Linked DNA regions of Homo sapiens: region 2 is linked to region 1. Evidence: promoter capture Hi-C in 16 types of primary human blood cells and fetal thymus (Javierre and others, 2016). All regions are on one chromosome and are shown on one strand. Each heading gives the region's core, a stretch centred on a gene start or on the middle of the fragment in contact. The rest is flanking DNA. Distances are from core to core; before and after follow the strand shown.

Region 1 (2,744 bases), core at 133-2,632:
TCAAACTCCTGACCTCAGGTGATGCACCTGCCTCGGCCTCCCAAAGTGCTGGGATTACAGCCGTGAGCCACTGGACCCGGCCGGACTTCAACATATCTTTAGCGGGATACAATTCAATGCATGACACTCATAGATTTATGAGTTTATTTCTGGACTTTCAATTCTATTCCACTGGATTGCGTCTATCCTTATGCCAGAACCACACAGTTTTTTGGGTTTTTTTTGAGACGGAGTCTCGCTCTTGTCACCCAGGCGGGATTGCAGTGGCACGATCTCTGCTCACTGCAACATCCGCATCCTGGATTCAAACGATTCTCCTAACTCAGCCTCCTGAGTAGCTGGGATTACAGGCACCTGCCACCACGCCCGGCTAATTTTTTTGTATTTTTGGTAGAGACAGGGTTTCACCATGTTGGCCAGGCTAGTCTTGAACTCCTGACCTCAGGTGATCTGCCTCGGCTTTCCAAGGTGCTGGGATTACAGGCGTGAGCCACCATGTCTAGCCCACACAGTGTTGATTACTGTAGGTTTGTAGCAAATTTTGACATTGGAAGTATGAGTCTCCTTTGTTATTTTTCAAGATTGTTTTGGCTATTCTGGGCCTCCTGCAATTCTATATGAACTTAAAGATCAGAGTTTCCATGTCTGTCAAAAAGGTTGTTGGAATTTTCTTTTTTTTTCCTTTTTTTTTTTTCTTTTTTTTGAGACAGAGTTTCACTCTTGTTGCCCAGGCTGGAGTGCAATGGCGCGATCTCAGCTCACCACAACCTCTGCCTCCCGGGCTCAAGCGATTCTCCTGCCTCAGCCTCCTGAGTAGCTGGGCTTATAGGCATGTGCCACCACGCCCGGCTAATTTTGTATTTTTAGTAGAGACAGGGTTTCTCCATGTTGGTCAGGCTGGTCTCGAACTCCCGACCTCAGGTGATCCACCCGCCTTGGCCTCCCAAAGTTCTGGGATTACAGGTGTGAGCCACCGCGCCCGGCCAGTTGTTGGAATTTTCCGAGGGATTGCGTTGAATCTGTAGATTGCTTCGGGTAGTATTGATATTTCATCTAGGTGTTCTTTTTAATGCTTTTCCAGCAGTATTTGGTAGTTTTCAGGCTACAAATTGTTCACCCTTTTGGTTAACTTTATTCCTAGGTGCTTAACCTTTAGATACTGTTGTAAGTGGAATTGCTTTCTTAATTTCCTTTTTGGATTGTTCATTGCGGGTGTGTAGAAACACAACTGATTTTTGTGTGATCTTGTACCCTGCAACTTTGCTGAATCTGCAGCCCTAGAAGCTTTCTTGTGATTCTCTGGCATTTCCTATATATAGGATCATGTCATCTGTGAATAGAGATATTTTTACTTCTTCCTTTCCAATTTGGATGCCTTTTATTTTTTTTCTTGTTTAATTGTTCTAGCCAGAACTTCCAGCACAATGTGGAATAGCAGTGGTAAAAGTGGACATCCTTGTCTTGTCCCTGATCTTAGGCAGAAAGCTTTCACTCTTTCACCATTGGGTATGACGGTAGCTGTGGGTTTTTCAGAAGTACCTTTTCTCATGTTGAGAAAGTTTATTTCTATTCCTAGTTTACGATTTTTAAAAATTATGATGCATGGTGGCTTGTGCCTGCAATCACAATACTTTAGGGAGCCAAAGTGGGAGGATCACTTGAGGCCAGGAGTTCAAGACCGACCTGGGCAACATAGTGAGACCTTATCTCAATAAAAAAATAAAAAATTTGCCAGGCGTGGTGGTGCATGCCTGTAGTCCCAGCTACTCAAGAGGCTGAGGTGGGAGGAAGGCTTGAGCCCAGGAGGTCAAGGCTGTGGCTTCAGTGAGCCATGATTTCACCACCATCATGATTGTGCCACCAACAGAGTGAAACCTTGTCTCAAAAAAAAAAAAAAAAAAAAAAAGCCATGCATGGTGGCTCAAGCCTGCAATCCCAGCACTTTGGGAGGCCGAGGTGGGCAGATCATGAGGTCAGGAGATCGAGACCATCCTGGCTAACACGGTTGTAGGGGCCAGCCCTACAAGGTCTGTGGGTTTTTCTCCCCGTGTGCAGAGACAAGAGATTGTAGAAATGAAGACACAAGACAAAGAGATCAAAGAAAAGACAGCTGGGCCTGGGGGACCACTACCACCAAGACGTGGAGACCGACAGTGGCCCCTAATGCCTGGCTGCGCTGTTATTTATTGGATACAAAGCAAAAGGGGCAGGGTAAAGAGTGTGAGTCATCTCCAATGATTGATAAGGTCACGTGAGTCACATGTCCACTGGACAGGGGCCCTTCCCTGTTAGGTAGCCAAGGCGGAGAGAGAGAGGACAGCTTACATCATTATTTCTTCTATGCTCTTTTAAGAAAGATCAAAGACTTTAATACTTTAATACTTTCACTAATTTTGCTACTGCTATCTAGAGGGCAGAGCCAGCTGTACAGAGTGGAACATGAAAGTGAAACAGGAGTGTGACCGCTGAAGCACAGCATCACAGGGAGACGGTTAGGCCCCTGGATAACTGCGGGCGGGCCTGACATCAGTCAGGCCCTCCACAAGAGGTGGTGGAGCAGTCTTCTCTAAACTCCCCCGGGGAAAGGGAGACTCCCTTTCCCGGTCTGCTAAGTAGTGGGTGCTTTTCCTTGGCACTGACGCTACCTCTAGACCACGGTCCGCTTGGTAACGGGAATCTTCCCAGATGCTGGCGTTACCGCTAGACCAAGGAGCCCTCTGGTGGCCCTGTCCAGGAATAACAGA
Region 2 (3,007 bases), core at 367-2,866, 180 kb after region 1:
CAGTGAGCTAGGGTCACATTACTGCACTCTATCCTGGGTGAGAACCTGTCTCAGAAAGAGAGGAGGGGGGAGGGGAGGGGAGGAAGGGGAGGGAGGAGGGGAGGCAGTGGACGCGGAGGGGAAGGGAGGGGAAGGGAGGGGAAGGGAGGGGAAGGGAGGGGGAAGGGAGGGGAAGGGAGGGGAGATAAAGGGAGGGGGAGGGGAAGGGAGGTGGGAGGGGAGATGAGGGGAGGAAAGTGGGGGGAGGAGAGGAGCAGAGGGGAAGAGAGGGGGAGGGGAGGGGAAGGTACGGGGGAGGGGAGATGAGGGGAGGGGAGTGGGGGAAGGGGAGGACAGGAGCAGAAGGGAAGGGAGGCGGGAGGGGAGGGGAAGGTACGGGGGAGGGGAGATGAGGGGAGGGGAGTGGGGGAAGGGGAGGAGAGGAGCAGAGGGGAAGGGAGGGGGGAAAAGAGAGATGGCACAAATTATTAATATCCGTCACCACAGATCTTACAGATATTAAAAAGATTGGGCATGGTGGCTCATGCCAGTAACCCCAGCACTTTGGGAGGCCAAGGTAGGAGGATCATTTGAGGGCAGGAGTTCGAGACCAGCCTAACATAAGACCGTGTTTCTCCCCCTCCAAAAAAAGACAATATTATGAACTTTATGCAAATTATTTGAAATTTTAGATAAAATGGAAAAATTCCTTGAAAACCACAACTTACCAAAACCACAACTTACCAGAAATAAAATAGAACATCTGAATAGTTGTATTTTTATAAAAGAAATAGAATTTGTAATTTAAAGTCTTTCCACAAAGAAAACTCTAGGTCCAGATGGCTGGTGACTTCTTCCAAACACATAAAAAATAAATAACATCAATCCTACACTAGCACTTTCAAAGAATAGAAAAAGAGAGAACACTTCTCCACACATTATATCAGCATAGCCTTGTTAACAAAACTCAACAGGGATCTCACAGAAAAGAAAAGAAAAGAAAATATGGCAATACATAAAAAGGACAGGCCAGGCGCTGTGTCTCACGCCTGTAATCCCAGCACTTTGGGAGGCCGAGGCGGGTGGATCGCCTGAGGTTGGGAGTTCGGTACCGGCCTGGCCAACGTGGTGAAACCCCGTCTCTACTAAAAATACAAAAATTAGCCAGGTGTGGTGGCGGGCGCATGTAATCCCAGCTACTCGGGAGGCTGAGGCAGGAGAATTGCTTGAACCCGGGAGGCGGAGGTTGCAGTGAGCTAAAATTGTCCCACTGCACTCCAGCCTGGGCGACAGAGCGAGACTCCATCTCAAAAAAAAAAAAAAAAGAAAGAAATGGGGGACGGACAAGGAGTCTCTCAGTTCAATTCCCCCTTCCTCAGCCCATTTCACCAAAGCCTGAAGCGGAAGAGAAAAACACGAGCCCCAGCATGGCGGGCGCAGCCACCCCCTCCTTCCACCACCAGACAAACTCCGTGGCCACAGCCCACACCGCCAGCGCGCATGCGTGACACGCGTCGGCCGCCGGTTTGCACCTGCGTCTTAAGAGGAGTCCGGGCGGGGAGGGGCGGGGCTCAGACGCTGCGCACGCGCACTCGCGACCCCTCGCCTCCTTTTGCTTTTTCTGGCGGGAAAAGCTCACGCGCACCTCCCCCAACTCAACTGCCGTTCGTCGTTCGTGGATGTCCGTTGTGTCCCGAGACTAGGACGTGGCTCCAGGTGCGCCCTGCCCCGCGGCGAGGTTCCCAGAATGGCCCTTCCCAGCCCCTACCGAAATCCTAGCGAAGCCCCCCCATATTGTGGGAGAGATACCCCTGCGTCAGGGCCCCCCAGATCCTGACCACTTGGGAGGCCGAGGCGGGCGGATCACGAGGTCAGAAGATAGAGACCATCCCGGGGAAGTGAAACCCCGTCTCTACTAAAAATACAAAAAATTAGCCAGGCGTAGTGGCACGCGCCTATAATCCCAGCTACTCAGGAGGCTGGGGCAGGAGAACTGCTTGAACCTGGAAGGCAGAGGTTGCAGTGAGCTGAGATCGCGCCACTGCACTCCAGCCTGGGTGACAAGAGTGAGACTCCGTCTCAAAAAAAAAAAAAAAAATCCTGACCACATCCCCTCAGATATACTGAAAGGAGTCCACCAGGAAATCTTATAGTTGACCCCCGAAATCCTGTCAGAATCGTCTAGAAATTGTCAGACTTCTCCCTCAGAGCCTGCCAGAAACTTTCCCCAAAATCCTATTACTCTCCCCAGATCAGCAGAGCCACCTAGACTCGTGTCAGAGATCCCCAGAAATCCTGGCAGGTCCCCTCCCAAACCCAGTCGGACCTCAGATTCCGTCAGAGAGCACAGAAGTCCATCAAAGACACCCCAGAAACGGAGACCCCGAAATGCACTCAGAGACCCCCGCAGAAATCAAGACCCTCCAAATCCAGCCAGAGACCCCCAGAAATCCAGTCAGACCCCTGCAGAAATCAAGACCCCCAAAATCCAGCCAGAGACCCCCAGAAATCCAGAGACCCCCGCATAAATCAAGACCCCCAAAATCCAGAGACCCCGAATAAATCAAGACCCCCAAAATCCAGTCAGAGAACCCCCAGAAATCCAATCAGACCCCCGCAGAAATCAAGACCCCCGAAATCCAGCCAGAGACCCCTGAAATCCAGTCAGAGACCCCCACAGAAATCAAAATCTCCAAAATCCAGCCAGACACTCCCCAGAAATCCAGTCAGAGACCCCCCCAAAATCCTGTCAGAGCCCTTGAAAGCCCGCCAAGGCCCACACCACCCAGAGCTCCTGCCAGGGCCCCATCCTGCTTCAGTGTCCCCGTCTCAGTCCCGTCAGACCCCCGAGATCAACCAACACCCCCGGGGTCCCTCAGGACTCCATCCCGAACCCACTCCGTGCGCCAGGGCCCAGCCAAGGCCATCGCCCCCCTTTGCACCCTGCAGGGTGTTCCAGACCCTGGAAGGGCCTCTCTTCAAAGACCCGTGTTTCCAGAACGGTGGCAGCGGGCTCACGTGGCTTGGG

The links. Contacts are between HindIII fragments. The CHiCAGO score rates a contact against its expected background, and 5 or more counts as called.
Region 2: a contact is called between the fragment with the promoter of KASH5 here and a fragment that was not itself captured in region 1, in 1 of 17 cell types (total B cells). The highest score is 6.0, in total B cells.

Annotation. Positions count from the first base shown.
Region 1 is chr19:49,205,754-49,208,497 of GRCh38, forward strand. The region is part of intron 20 of TRPM4 (transient receptor potential cation channel subfamily M member 4); the gene reads left to right. Among named protein-coding and RNA genes, the nearest start is that of TRPM4, 49 kb to the left of the region's middle. The HindIII fragment of the contact is 201 bases long and covers 1,283-1,483 here.
Region 2 is chr19:49,386,633-49,389,639 of GRCh38, forward strand. It overlaps KASH5 (KASH domain containing 5), which reads left to right and starts at 1,617. Exons shown (of 20, transcript NM_144688.5): 1 at 1,617-1,695. It overlaps LOC101928295 (a long non-coding RNA gene), which reads right to left and starts at 1,449. Exons shown (of 3, transcript NR_110729.1): 1 at 724-1,449. The HindIII fragment of the contact is 10,613 bases long and covers 1-3,007 here.